Regions from separate parts of the Homo sapiens genome. Here regions 1 and 3 are each linked to region 2. The links are contacts of gene promoters, found by promoter capture Hi-C in blood cells and fetal thymus (Javierre and others, 2016). All regions are on one chromosome and are shown on one strand. Each heading gives the region's core, a stretch centred on a gene start or on the middle of the fragment in contact. The rest is flanking DNA. Distances are from core to core; before and after follow the strand shown. Region 1 overlaps ZYX (zyxin). Region 2 holds the start of CLCN1 (chloride voltage-gated channel 1). Region 3 holds the start of TAS2R40 (taste 2 receptor member 40).

Region 1 (4,487 bases), core at 393-2,892, 75 kb after region 2:
AAGCCCTGGCTAACTCGGCTGGCCCTTTCTGCCCCTTCCAGGCAGTACGCCCCGAGGTGCTCCGTCTGCTCTGAGCCCATCATGCCTGAGCCTGGCCGAGATGAGACTGTGCGAGTGGTCGCCCTGGACAAGAACTTCCACATGAAGTGTTACAAGTGTGAGGTCAGCCATCCCTCTGGACTCCTTGGGCAGGTTCTGACCAGGAGGTGGCGGGAGATGCTGCTTACTAACTGGGAGGTGGAAAGCACCAGCATTCAGGAAACAGGGCTGTGATTTTGAGGGTGGCTCATGGTGGCACCCCATCTGTCCTGCCAGAATGCTTCCTGCCACTGCAGGAAATGGGGCTGTGGGGCTTCTGAGGTCACTTTGAGTCATGGATAAGCCAAGAAATGGGACAAGCCAATAGGAGAGAAGAAGGGCATGGTGTTTTACCGTGGTAGGGGATGGGGAAACAGGAGCTGAGAGAAGAGGTCTTCGAATGGAGGTGAGCCAACCTCTATTTTATTAGGGTGGTGGTGGGCAGGGGAGCAAGCACCTTGGGAGCAGCTCTACCCACTGCTTGCCCTCTTGCAGGAAGGTCCTAGTGGGTGACTGGAAGTAGGATAGGGATGGGGAGTTGGGTGTGGCTGGAAAAAGCGATGACACCAGCTCTGAGCCATGAAGCATCTTTCTAATTCCAAGATGGAGCTGGATGGGGTGGGGTAGGGTGGAGCAGAGCAGGGGCCTTCCGGTCCAGTGCCCCTCACCCTTCCTTCTTCCCAGGACTGCGGGAAGCCCCTGTCGATTGAGGCAGATGACAATGGCTGCTTCCCCCTGGACGGTCACGTGCTCTGTCGGAAGTGCCACACTGCTAGAGCCCAGACCTGAGTGAGGACAGGCCCTCTTCAGACCGCAGTCCATGCCCCATTGTGGACCACCCACACTGAGACCACCTGCCCCCACCTCAGTTATTGTTTTGATGTCTAGCCCCTCCCATTTCCAACCCCTCCCTAGCATCCCAGGTGCCCTGACCCAGGACCCAACATGGTCTAGGGATGCAGGATCCCCGCCCTGGGGTCTGGTCCTCGCCCATCCTGCAGGGATTGCCCACCGTCTTCCAGACACCCCACCTGAGGGGGGCACCAGGTTTAGTGCTGCTGCTTTCACTGCTGCACCCGCGCCCTCGGCCGGCCCCCCGAGCAGCCTTTGTACTCTGCTTGCGGAGGGCTGGGAGACCCTCCAGGACATTCCCACCCTCCCCCATGCTGCCAAGTTGTAGCTATAGCTACAAATAAAAAAAAACCTTGTTTTCCAGAATTCTCAGTAGTCAGCTCTTTTGTAGTGCCTGCAGCCCTCATGGGTGGGATGGAGGCAGAAAATCAGTTCCTGTTTATTTACAAAAATATATATATGTGTATGTATGTATATATATTAACCCCTCAGCTCCCTCCCATGATCATCCTTTTACTTCTACCCCCACCTCCCTTTTAAAACAAAGAGGTTTTCTGGGGTGCAGAGCAGGGTTCTCCTGAAAGTGGGCAGAAGCAGCACCGATAGCCTAGTCTGGCAGGTTGTGGGAAGGGGCGCAGGGAGTGACCATGAGCGACCTTGGCCCCGTCCTTGCTCCTTGCACCCTGATTGGGCATGGGGTGAGAGGAGGGATCAGTCCTTGAATCCCTGAATACTGCAAAGAATGCGCTTCTGGTGCCCGGGCAGTGTGATTCCCATCTGCGTCAGGTCCCTGTGGGCAAGGAAGGGTGGGGGCATGAGTCCGGAGGCTCCACCCCCGCAGCCCTCCCCTGCCCAGACAGCTCCAGCTCCTTACTCAGCGGTCAGCTCCAGCACACACTCCATGGTGTCCAGCCCAGCCGAGTGGAAGTGCAGGATGTAGCGTTTCATGCGTATGGACTCGAGCCACTCAGAGACGGTTCGATATGGGATCCCATCTGAGCCACTCAGGCTGGGCAGGCGAAGAGTCATCCTGTGGGACATGGGCATGTCAGTCACAGCGGGTACATGGGCTGATCTGGTTGGCCTTGGCCTCTGAGCATCAGCAGCCAGCACTGAAGTTCGGTGTCTGGGCACAGAGATCATCTAGACTGTGGATTGACCCCACCATTATCTCTGAGCCCACTTCCTGGCCTGTTTCCTGGTGTGCTCACAACAGTGGACTGGCTGACAGTCCTGCTATGTCGACAGGCCTATAGGAAGGGACTGTCCTGGGAAGCCCCAACAGAAGGGGATCACCAGCCGGTCTCCTGCTGGAGTGGCCGGTTCTGGGCACCTGACTGAGGGCTGGTTAAGACATGGAAGTCTCCTGTCTGAGAGGAAGCTGAAAGTAGGAGAACAGAGGCCTGGCACCTGGGCGTGGTCCTGCCTTTTTCCATAGTGGCTGCTTGAGTTCCGGGAGCAGTCCTTCCTCACCACCTTCAGCTTCGGCTGTTATTCTTGCACTCTGACACCCACAATACAATGAGTGTTCCTGTACTAAAGCTCGCCAGAGCCAAAAACCATTAGCAAAGTAAATCTGCTGGGGGAAAAAATATCCAGCATTCCAGAAAGATTAGCACACGCAGTCTCCAGTGTATGAGGGAGTTGCGCTCCAAAAGATAGTTTCAAAAGTTGGAACTTAGAGCATGTTTTCTCCCAGAAACAAGGTTATATATGGTGGTTGGATACAGAGGCCAGTTGGCCAGGCTGGCTACCCAATAAAGCACTTGAAGAACAGCCTTGCCTGCTTCCCCAACCTGAGCGCTCCCCCACCCCCCCATCAGTTCATTCTCTACACTCAGGCCATATTTTTGGTAAAATGCAGCTCTGACCATGTCCCCCCATCCTGTGGACAGCTTTTAAGAATTGGTTCTCCAGGCCAGGCGAGGTGGCCCACGCCTGTAATCCCAGCACTTTGGGAGGCCGAGGTGGGCGGATCATGAGGTCAGGAGTTCGAGACCAGCTTGGCCAACATGGTGAAACCCCGTTTCTACTAAAAATACAAAAATTAGCCGGGCATGGTGGTATGTGCCTGTAATCCCAGCTACTCAGGAGGCCGAGACAGGAGAATCACTTGAACCCTGGAGGTGGAGGCTGCAGTGAGCTGAGATTGCGCTGCGTTACTCCAGCCTGGGCGACAGAGCAAGACTCCGTCTCGGGGTGGAAAAAAAAACAACAACTCTGCACTCATGGTAAAATCCAAACTTCTCAACAGGGCTGGTCCTCTTTGTGTTGACTGGTTGTCTCTCCAGCCTCATGGCTGCTATTCCTAAACACAATGCCGCAGCCATCCTGCACTATCTGCAACCTACCAGCCCTCAGCTCCCCACAGACTAGCCATGTGATCCAGAAGCCTTCCCAAACCCTGCAAGGCTGCTGCTACCTACCCCACCCCAGCCTGGCTGCCCAAGCTCCCTGGAGCTTGGGTAATAAGTGCAGCTGTATCTCCAATGTCCAGCAAACAGCTTGCACCAGTAGGTCCTCCAAAACTTCATGAATGGATGACCCTTTCCTTCACATGCAGAAATATTTCTATGGGGAAGGGGATGCATCCCAAGAATGGGCCACAGTACAACACAGTGGGATTGGCAAGGATGGCTCCGGGAGTGTCTTAGGTGAGGCTGCCTGAGAAGAGAAAAGATGGGCCCCCCACCCCCAAGCCCAGGTGAAGTGAGGGAACTGGGGCCCAGCCATAACTGATTTTCTGCAAATATGCATAATCTAAAGCTGACCTCTTGGACTCTCCCCAAGGGCACGTCTTGCCTCATACACTGGACTTGGTCCAGAGCTCCCCAGGCCCAGCGCTCAAAGAAGATTGGCTGAATGCCCATTTCCACTCTCCTAGCGCTGCCTCTGGGTTCCCTAGTCCTTCCCCTGCATGGTTACCTGGGGTCAAAGTTGGCAATGGTCCGCAGGGAGTGGGGGTTGGCAAGCAGTTGCTCCAGATGTGCCTGAAGCTTCTGGAAGTGTGGCCGGCGGGCACGGTCATATGCCCAGCAGTTCTTCATGAGCTCATACAGAGGGGCAGGGCAGTCCACAGGAGGGGGCAACCGGTACCCATCCTCAATGCTCTTCATAACCTGCACGGCGGGACAGGAGGATGCTCTAGAGTAGCAAGCTAACCTGGAGGCCCATGAGAAACCGACGGTCACACAAGATAATTGCAGTGGAGATCCTAGGATGGGAGGAGGTGGGAGGACCAGGGTGGGACGATCACAGTGGGAGGATCAGGGTGGGAGGAGTAAAGAGAGCAGGGCATGAGGTGAAGAACCAGAGGAGCCAGGAGTACAGAAAAACTGAAGGTCATGAATAAATAAAGATATTTGCAGGAAAAGGCCATGGGAGGACCTTGGGAGGAAATAAGAGGTGTGAATTGGAGACAAGATGAGGAAGAATATTCTGGGCTCACCTCCTGATTGCTCATCTCCCCATAAGGCTTGTCCCCAAAGCTCAGCACCTCCCACATCACAATCCCAAAGCTCCACACATCGCTGGCTGTGGTGAAGATCCGATGGGCA
Region 2 (4,314 bases), core at 217-2,716:
TAATTTTTATAGAGACAGGGTCTCCCCATGTTGCCAGGTTGGTCTCGAACTGCTGGGCTTAAGCATTCCACCCGCCTTGGTCACCCACATTGCTGGGATTATAAGCATGAACCATAATATCCATAGCCATAATAATGGCTATCTCTTGCTTTTTTGATAATAGCCATCCTAACAGGTATGAGGCGATATTGCATTATGATTTTGGTTTCCTGATGATTAATGATGTTGAGGCCCTAGAAAAAGTACTTTTAATGATATTGGCTTCCCTCCTGCTTTGGGTGGTTCCATTTAGCCTAGGTCAAAATCACATTGTAGACCAGATGTTTGGTGTCCCTACCCTGCAGTCCCTGAACTTGGACTGTCCTGGGACAGACCCCACTTGGTAATGCATCCTAAACTTTACTTTGGCTCAGTTCATATCTTTTCTCCTACAGTGAAGAGTTCATAGGGAAGACATGTCATAGGAAAATTGGTTTTATAACGTGATGCCAGGAAGAAAAGTTTGTCCTTGGCCAAAAAAGTATTTATTGACCTGAAAAGGGAAGAATAGCAGAGAGCACTTCCCCATCATCTTTCATGTTTGTCGGGCTTGTCATGAGAAGCCCTCACCCCTTTCCCACCTCTCCCTTCCCTGTGCCTCTTTCTACTTTCGATTCTCCCCTGTTATCTCCCTTGTTATCTATCTGATGGAGCCAGTGTGGGCACTCCACAGTCCAAATGGAAGCTCAGTCCCTCCGGGTTGGCAGTGTGGCTGACACCTAACAGTCTGGGAAGTGGGAGAAATTCTAGAACCCAAGGCTATTACCGACCCTCGACTTCCCACTTCCCATAAGTGTTCCACACCCAGTGAGTGATAAGGATGGGATCAGGGGATGCCCCCAAGCTGTTATTAGCAGCCTCTGGCAGACAGAAGGGCAAAGAGCTAGAGAAGAACGCTGGACATGGGATGGGCTGGCAGAGCTGGCCAGACAGAACCCTGGGTGGACACAGAGTTGGGAACAAGCTGGCCAGGAGATGTGGCAGAGAGGCACCAGTTACTTTCCCAGGTGAGTTAATGTGCCAGTGTTTCCAGAACTTCGAGTCGCTTCATCTTTATCCAGCACCCACCCCTCACCTTCCGCATCCTGAAGAAGAGAGATGGGCAACTGGAGGGCTTCCATGCAGATCCGGCTCTACACATAGGTTTGAGAGCATACTCAGCAGTTTCTCATCCTGGTCCAGGCGATATTTATAGAGGGACCAGTGACATGGAGCTGGAAGCCTACTACTGGTGACTAAGAAGGGGGACAATGCCACTGGCTCAGCAGAGGGAATTCCCTGTGGGGCTGTCCCTCAGGTTCTCATCCCAACCCCCACCCCCACACTGCACTCACACCTGCTTCGACCCCAAGCAGATCAGATGTGGCAGTGGGGGGTCATGTGACGGAGAGGGGTCTATAAATAGCTGGAGGTGGGCATGCTGCCCCAGACGCCTTGGGGACAGCAAGAGCAGAGGCTTAAGGAGCTACACTGGGGGAAGGACAGGGGCAAGCAGGCCAAGGCCTGGCCGGGGCTCGGGGGGAGGGAATATGGAGCAATCCCGGTCACAGCAGCGTGGGGGTGAACAAAGCTGGTGGGGTAGTGACCCCCAGTACCAGTATATGCCCTTTGAACACTGCACCAGCTACGGACTGCCCTCTGAGAATGGGGGCCTCCAGCACAGGCTCCGGAAGGATGCAGGCCCCCGCCACAACGTCCACCCCACACAGGTAAAGTGCTCTAAGGGGAGAGGGGAGCCATGGATGAGGGGAGACAGTGGTGCCAGAGACTGGTGAAAATGAGGAATTGGGTGAAAAGAGGGAGCAGTGTTACATTTTTTTAACTTAAAAAACAAGTACGTGGTGATGTGTTCAAAATATGAAAATCTTTGAAAGTCTGGGCTCACTTAAGTATGCACTTAGAGAGATATGCATGCACTTTCATACAACCTTTACCAACAGAGTACCCAAATCATATGGGGAAACAGCAGAGCCTCACATGCATGAATAGCTCGTGCTTACATAACCTACGTGGAGTGGATTGCGTAGGAGCCCACACTGCAGTGTGCTGGGAGCTGTCTCCCACACCCTCACCCACAGGTAGACACTGCCAGATTTCTGCCTCTGGGACCCTCTGCAGAATACACACAAACATGAATCTTTCTGCAGAAGGCAGAAGAAAGGAATTGGGCAAGTGTAGAAAACAGACTGAATTGCTTATCAGTGATCAAAGATCTACCAACGTCAAAATGAGCAGAGATGTACAAGCTTTTAGGTCGCAAGATGATCAAGTAAGAACCTATTAAGTGTTAGGCACCTGGAAAAGGGCAGAGATGTGATCCCAGCAACAGAAGCATGCAGGCTAATTAGGAGTGTCTATGGATGAGCAGCCTCCCGCTGTGGGATTGGTGGGATATGAACACCTAGGAAAGGGGGAATGGGGATGGGCACAACTAAAGGAAAGGTTGTGAAATTGTCATGGAAAAAGATAGGTCATGGTTAATAAGTAAGTGTGCCTCTCCCTCCAAAGAATGCAGAGAATAACAGAGGATAGAATTTGTCTAGAGGGCAGTTGGCCAGAACTTTTTTTTTTTTTTTTTTTTTTGAGATGGAGTCTCGCTCTGTCTCCCAGGCTGGAGTGCAGTGGTGCTATCTTGGCTCACTGCGACCTCCGCCTCCCGGGTTCAAGCAATTCTCTTTCCTCAGCCTCCTGAGTAGCTGGGATTACAAGCACCTGCCACCATACCTGGCAAATTTTTGTACTTTCAGTAGAGACGGGGTTTTGCCATGTTGGCCAGGCTGTCTCGAACTCCTGACCTCAGGTAATTCACCCGCCTTGGCCTCCCAAAGTGCTGGAATTACAGGTGTTAACCACTGTGCCCAGTCTGGTCAGAACTTAAAAGGCTTTTTTTTCTTTCTTTTTTTTTTTTTTAACAGGGAGCCTTCAGTTCCTTTAGGTTTAAGGCTGGGAAGCTGAGGCATGAGCTATGCAGGGGATCTCAGCACTGGGGGTCAAAAGGATCTGCTCTCAGTCCCTGACCAACCCCCAGGAGTATTTGCAAAGGCAGCGCTAGGGACCCAGTAGGGAAGAGGGACATACAGGTCAGTGTAGGCTGGAATCGAGCATTGGGAAGGTTTCTTGGAGACAGCGGGGTCTGACTAGGCCTTTGAACACTGTGTGGGATCAGCAGGAGGGAAGACCCCTCCCCCTGGCCCTGTGTTCTCACTCGTGTACATGGTTGTATCTGGGTGGGATGGCAACTTGAGTAACAGTGCCATTATGGCACTTCCTGATGACAGTTCTCGTGTTGGGAAGCTATGGTTAGTTTGGGGAGTAGAATTGGCCTGTTTTCTACAGGTCTCAAAAGTAAACAAGAGTTTGGATTAGTTTTTCTTTGTTTAATTTTTATTATGGAAGACTTACACAAAAATGGAATGGTATAGTGAAGCCCCAAGTACCCACCAGTTGTCAATATTTTGTCACTATTGTTCCATCTATTCTTCCCTTCCCCACCCTCACCACTCTACACACCATGGAATACTTTTTTTTTGTTTTTTGTTTTTTGTTTTTTGTTTTTGAGATGGAGTTTCGCTCTTGTTGCCCAGGCTGGAATGCAATGGCGCGATCTCAGCTCACCGCAATCTCCGCCTCCCTGGTTCAAGCAATTCTCCTGCCTCCGCCTCCCAGGTAGCTGAGATTACAGGCATGCGCCACCATGCCTGGCTAATTTTTGTATTTTTAGTAGAGACGAGGTTTCTCCATGTTGGTCAGGCTGGTCTTGATCTCCTGACCTCAGGTAACCTGCCCATCTCAGGCTCCTAAAGTGCTGGGGTTACAGGGGTGAGCCACTGAGCCTTGCTTCCACCTTGGAATACTTTTTAACAAATCCCAGACATTGTATCACTTGTAGACTTGAGTTTTGACTTCTCCCTTGCCCTCCCCTCACCCTGCCCTGCATGGGACCAGCCAGAACAGATCTGGCCCTTTAAGTGTTTTCCCAGCCCAGGTATGATGATATGAAGCAACCCCCTTCCTTGTCTCCACTGGCCTGGGGCCTTGAGGAGCTGAGACAGCCTCAGCTGTCTGACTTCCACTGGGAAGTATGTTCTCTCTCTGGGTCCCACGCAGGGTTTGGAAGGAAACACTGCCTCCCTCGGTCACTGACCCAGAAGACAAACAGCCATGAGCAGGGCAATTCATGTGCGTGCTTGTTCAGGACTGCGGTGTAAAATGCTGCTCATATTGTGAAATCAGATCTCTTCTACTCAGGCTCTCCCAGAATCCAGCAACATGGCC
Region 3 (4,395 bases), core at 806-3,305, 93 kb before region 2:
CCCCAGGCTCATTCTACCTGATTCTGAGCTCAAATAGTCATGTGGGATCTCAGTAAGCTGAAATTGATGACACATACACAAACAATAAAAACTGGGACTATGGAGACTTCCTTCTCTCCAACTCGAATAGCATCCAATTTTGGCTTTTCTATATACTATTCGAGGACATTATAATAGCAGGCCTTTTTGGAAGAAACTCAATTCTAAGTAAAAGATGTTCATATATGAGCTTATGGGAATTTCTTATTCACAAACATGGTAACTATCAAAATAAAACTCTCTCCCAAAATAAGAGAGACAAGAAAAGAAGTGGGGAAAACAGATTTTAAAAGCTGTATGAGCTTTTACAAATAATTTAGCAGGTAACAGAGATCTTGTGAGACAAGTAAAAAGGCCTTGTATTCATTGCTTATCAGGTAAATGTGGACTTAAAGTAAATAAGGTAAGAAGGTGTTGAGCTAGAAACATGTCTCAAATTATTTCCAGTGAGCTTCTGAAAGCCCAAGACAAATGTATCTTTATGAAAAATTGAGACAGACCCAGTAACCAGATCCTCTCATTATTTGCATGTGAAGCCTCTAACTTGTAGTCATGTGATAAACAAATGGAGAAAAATTGGAAATAACCATTAATGAGGGCGGCAGAAATTATAACATTGAGCAAGGGTCAGAAGATTGCAGAGCAGTTACCCATTCTTGGCGCAGAAACCTGAAAGTCAGGATCAAAGAGAATGGCAACGGTGAACACAGATGCCACAGATAAAGACATATCCAAGTTCAAGGTCACCTTCACTTTGGTGGTCTCCGGAATAGAGTGCATCACTGGCATCCTTGGGAGTGGCTTCATCACGGCCATCTATGGGGCTGAGTGGGCCAGGGGCAAAACACTCCCCACTGGTGACCGCATTATGTTGATGCTGAGCTTTTCCAGGCTCTTGCTACAGATTTGGATGATGCTGGAGAACATTTTCAGTCTGCTATTCCGAATTGTTTATAACCAAAACTCAGTGTATATCCTCTTCAAAGTCATCACTGTCTTTCTGAACCATTCCAATCTCTGGTTTGCTGCCTGGCTCAAAGTCTTCTATTGTCTTAGAATTGCAAACTTCAATCATCCTTTGTTCTTCCTGATGAAGAGGAAAATCATAGTGCTGATGCCTTGGCTTCTCAGGCTGTCAGTGTTGGTTTCCTTAAGCTTCAGCTTTCCTCTCTCGAGAGATGTCTTCAATGTGTATGTGAATAGCTCCATTCCTATCCCCTCCTCCAACTCCACGGAGAAGAAGTACTTCTCTGAGACCAATATGGTCAACCTGGTATTTTTCTATAACATGGGGATCTTCGTTCCTCTGATCATGTTCATCCTGGCAGCCACCCTGCTGATCCTCTCTCTCAAGAGACACACCCTACACATGGGAAGCAATGCCACAGGGTCCAGGGACCCCAGCATGAAGGCTCACATAGGGGCCATCAAAGCCACCAGCTACTTTCTCATCCTCTACATTTTCAATGCAATTGCTCTATTTCTTTCCACGTCCAACATCTTTGACACTTACAGTTCCTGGAATATTTTGTGCAAGATCATCATGGCTGCCTACCCTGCCGGCCACTCAGTACAACTGATCTTGGGCAACCCTGGGCTGAGAAGAGCCTGGAAGCGGTTTCAGCACCAAGTTCCTCTTTACCTAAAAGGGCAGACTCTGTGACTGGAACTCACGGAGTTCTGCGGGACCTGGTCCAACCACTTCTGCCTTTGCCTCAGGTAGAACTCTCTCCTCACCCGTCTCTTCTCTCCCAAACCTGCTCTGACACTTCTCAGATAACGTGATCCTTTTATAAATATGAAGCTGAATTTTTAACTTGAGATTCTAAACAGAAGTAACTAAGAAACCTGAAGATGGACTTTGAAAGCTCCTTGAACTATGTTCATTCATATCCTGCCCTGAGATCTCTCCACTTTCTTCTCCTCCTGAGCCTTAAGGAGAGGGTGGCCAGACATATCGGTTTGCCAGGGACAATCTCTGTTTATTGTCTGTTGTCAATTGAGCATCCTTTAATTCTCAAGAATATCATGGTCTGGATGAAGAATTACATGATCATCCTACTTAAGACACCCAACTAACACACAGTTAGGGCTGGTGAAGCAGAGCACAGCACTCAGTCCACGGGGTAGAAGGGAAACCAGAGTGGCTACAGAAAAAGAAGATTCAGGAAAGAAAGGCTGCTGGAAATTATCAAGTGCTGCAGAGTTCCGAGGAAAGTAAAGGGTGAAGAAAAAGGCTCTGGATTTGACTAAAAGGATGCCATGTGTGCCATTAGTGGAGTGATAGGGTGACATCCTGATCCCAGGAGTTCCAGAAGATAATGCCAAAAGGGAGGGGATGGGTAAAAACCAATAGTCTAGAGAGGATGTTTGCAGATAAAGATGAGTTATAGAACGGCAGATGGATATGTGAAGGGTCAGTTCAATGCTTTATTTCTCCAAATGGGAGGGGACAAAGTGAGCAGAGAGGAAAGAAAGAATGCAGGGAAAAGAGTGAAGTGGGCAGGAAGCAGAAAGAGAAAAGGAAGAGGCCAGAGTAAGTAAGCGTCTGTTTTGCTCAGCTCCTGACTCTGTGGCAATGCTAGCGGCACCTGTGCCTCTGGTTTTACCAGTTCTGGGTTACCTTGAAGTAAATAGTGGGGCAAGAGCGGGTTACTTGGGGCAGGCTGCTGGAGAAGAGGAAAAACATTATTCTCCATTGTCATTGTTCAGGATGGTTCCAGCAGCATTGTCTCAAAGAGCTGTTCACAAAACATTGGACACCCTCTCCCCAGATATCTTAGAGCTTGAACGTTAGGAATCTGAAGTTGTCTTTTATTAGGTAAGTTTTAAATCATGATTATTGAGGAAAATGAAAAAAGAATGCTGTGGATCATACCAAGCTTAGGTAGCCCCCAAATGAAAATATGAGGTCAGTAGCAAAGTCTAGTTCTGAGCTCCAGCGCTCTCAAGCACACATTTCAGAGAGAGTTCCTTACATCCATAAACTGCAAAAACCACACACACACACGGCATACACACAGACACATGGCATACACACACACACACACACACACACACACACAGATTCCTTTATAGCTCAGACAGCTTGGGACTTATTTACCTGAAAAGTAAAATATTAATAAAACACACATTTTTGATAGTTTTCTTAAGCTATAGTTATTTATATGACTATTTCAGGCGGTATTTGTTATAGTAAGACAAATTAGATATTGAAGTTTTATTCCAGTCCCTAGAATAGAGAAATATACATTTTCTTCCAAGTTATATATATTGATAAAAGGGTCATGTACCCACTAAGGGTTCTCTGATGCATTACAGAGTTAGAGAGAAAATTGATTTAAAGTTGCCATTATATTAACATGAACCATGTCAAGACCACAAAGTGGATAACTCCATACTTACTATGAAGAAATATCATCTCATTGCTAGCAAGAGCCTAAGGCAGCACATAGCTAACAAAAGCTCCAAGGATGATAACATCCTTATCGATGCACATGTTGGCCTGCCTTCAACGAGATAAAATTCTCTCCAATTCTCTTTCTTCTGTATGTAAAACCCAAGTAAGCACTCAGAAAGACCCAGAATACCTAGTCTTCAAGTTGTCTGGCTTTAGACAGCAATCAGAAGTCCTAAATGAAGACAATAATCGACTCTGCTGGACAAAAGTCTGTAACCAAATGCAAAGCCCGGCTTGCTGTGGTCTCAATATTATTACAGGTTTTCACCTTGCAAACTCTACATCATCTCCCTCGCCCCACAGCCCTGCGGGATGTTGAAAGTGATAGAGTGAAGGATTCCTTTACCCACAAAGTCACTCTGAATATTCATCTAGCATGTGGAGCAGGTAAGGGGACTTTGGTTAGCAATGGATTCCAGTCTGGCAGGCCCAGCCCAGAGGCAGGGTATCTGGCTTCTTTCCTCATACCTGGTCGAGTCCTTGCAAATAAAGGCTAGACTGGCAGCCATGGCCAGTCTAAGGGCTATGACTTTATGGGCACCAGATTGTCCCACAATCCAGTATCATCTTCCCCTTCCAACTACTTCGGTGTCTGCTAAAATTCCACTGTGGTTCTGGCTTTTCTTTGCTTTTATTCTACAGGAAATCTGTTATTCTCTCAGGCATTCTTTACTTGGGGCAGCAGGGAAGAAACATCTATGTAATAAAAAGAAAAGAAACTATAAGTCCAACCAGTCTAAAATGTCTTGTGCTGGGGGAGGGGAGCAGAAACCAAGGGCTAACTAATTATGTCTTGTTGGAGACAGGGCAACTTGTGCATTAGGAAAGATCATGGAAGGAAAGAAAAAAAAGACACCGAGAGAGGAAGCCTTCCCATCTGTCTTACGTTTTCTCCC

The links. The method cuts DNA at HindIII sites, captures the fragments that hold promoters and counts their contacts. A CHiCAGO score of 5 or more calls a contact.
Region 1: a contact is called between a fragment that was not itself captured here and the fragment with the promoter of CLCN1 in region 2, in 1 of 17 cell types (M0 macrophages). The highest score is 7.6, in M0 macrophages.
Region 3: a fragment that was not itself captured here is called in contact with the fragment with the promoter of CLCN1 in region 2 in 2 of 17 cell types (M0 macrophages and M2 macrophages); the score reaches 6.8 in M0 macrophages.

Annotation. Positions count from the first base shown.
Region 1 is chr7:143,389,816-143,394,302 of GRCh38, forward strand. It overlaps ZYX (zyxin), which reads left to right. Exons shown (of 10, transcript NM_003461.5): 9 at 42-162; 10 at 763-1,296. The coding sequence ends at 867. EPHA1 (EPH receptor A1) reads right to left here. Exons shown (of 18, transcript NM_005232.5): 15 at 4,379-4,487; 16 at 3,856-4,049; 17 at 1,805-1,960; 18 at 1,314-1,720. The coding sequence ends at 1,642. Among named protein-coding and RNA genes, the nearest start is that of MIR6892, 9.4 kb to the left of the region's middle. RefSeq lists enhancers at 1,751-2,351, 3,661-3,955. The HindIII fragment of the contact is 4,564 bases long and covers 1-3,924 here.
Region 2 is chr7:143,314,645-143,318,958 of GRCh38, forward strand. It overlaps CLCN1 (chloride voltage-gated channel 1), which reads left to right and starts at 1,467. Exons shown (of 23, transcript NM_000083.3): 1 at 1,467-1,748. The coding sequence starts at 1,569. The HindIII fragment of the contact is 3,265 bases long and covers 1-2,283 here.
Region 3 is chr7:143,221,349-143,225,743 of GRCh38, forward strand. TAS2R40 (taste 2 receptor member 40) reads left to right here and starts at 689. Exons shown (of 1, transcript NM_176882.2): 1 at 689-1,731. The coding sequence starts at 731. The coding sequence ends at 1,702. The HindIII fragment of the contact is 1,727 bases long and covers 1,193-2,919 here.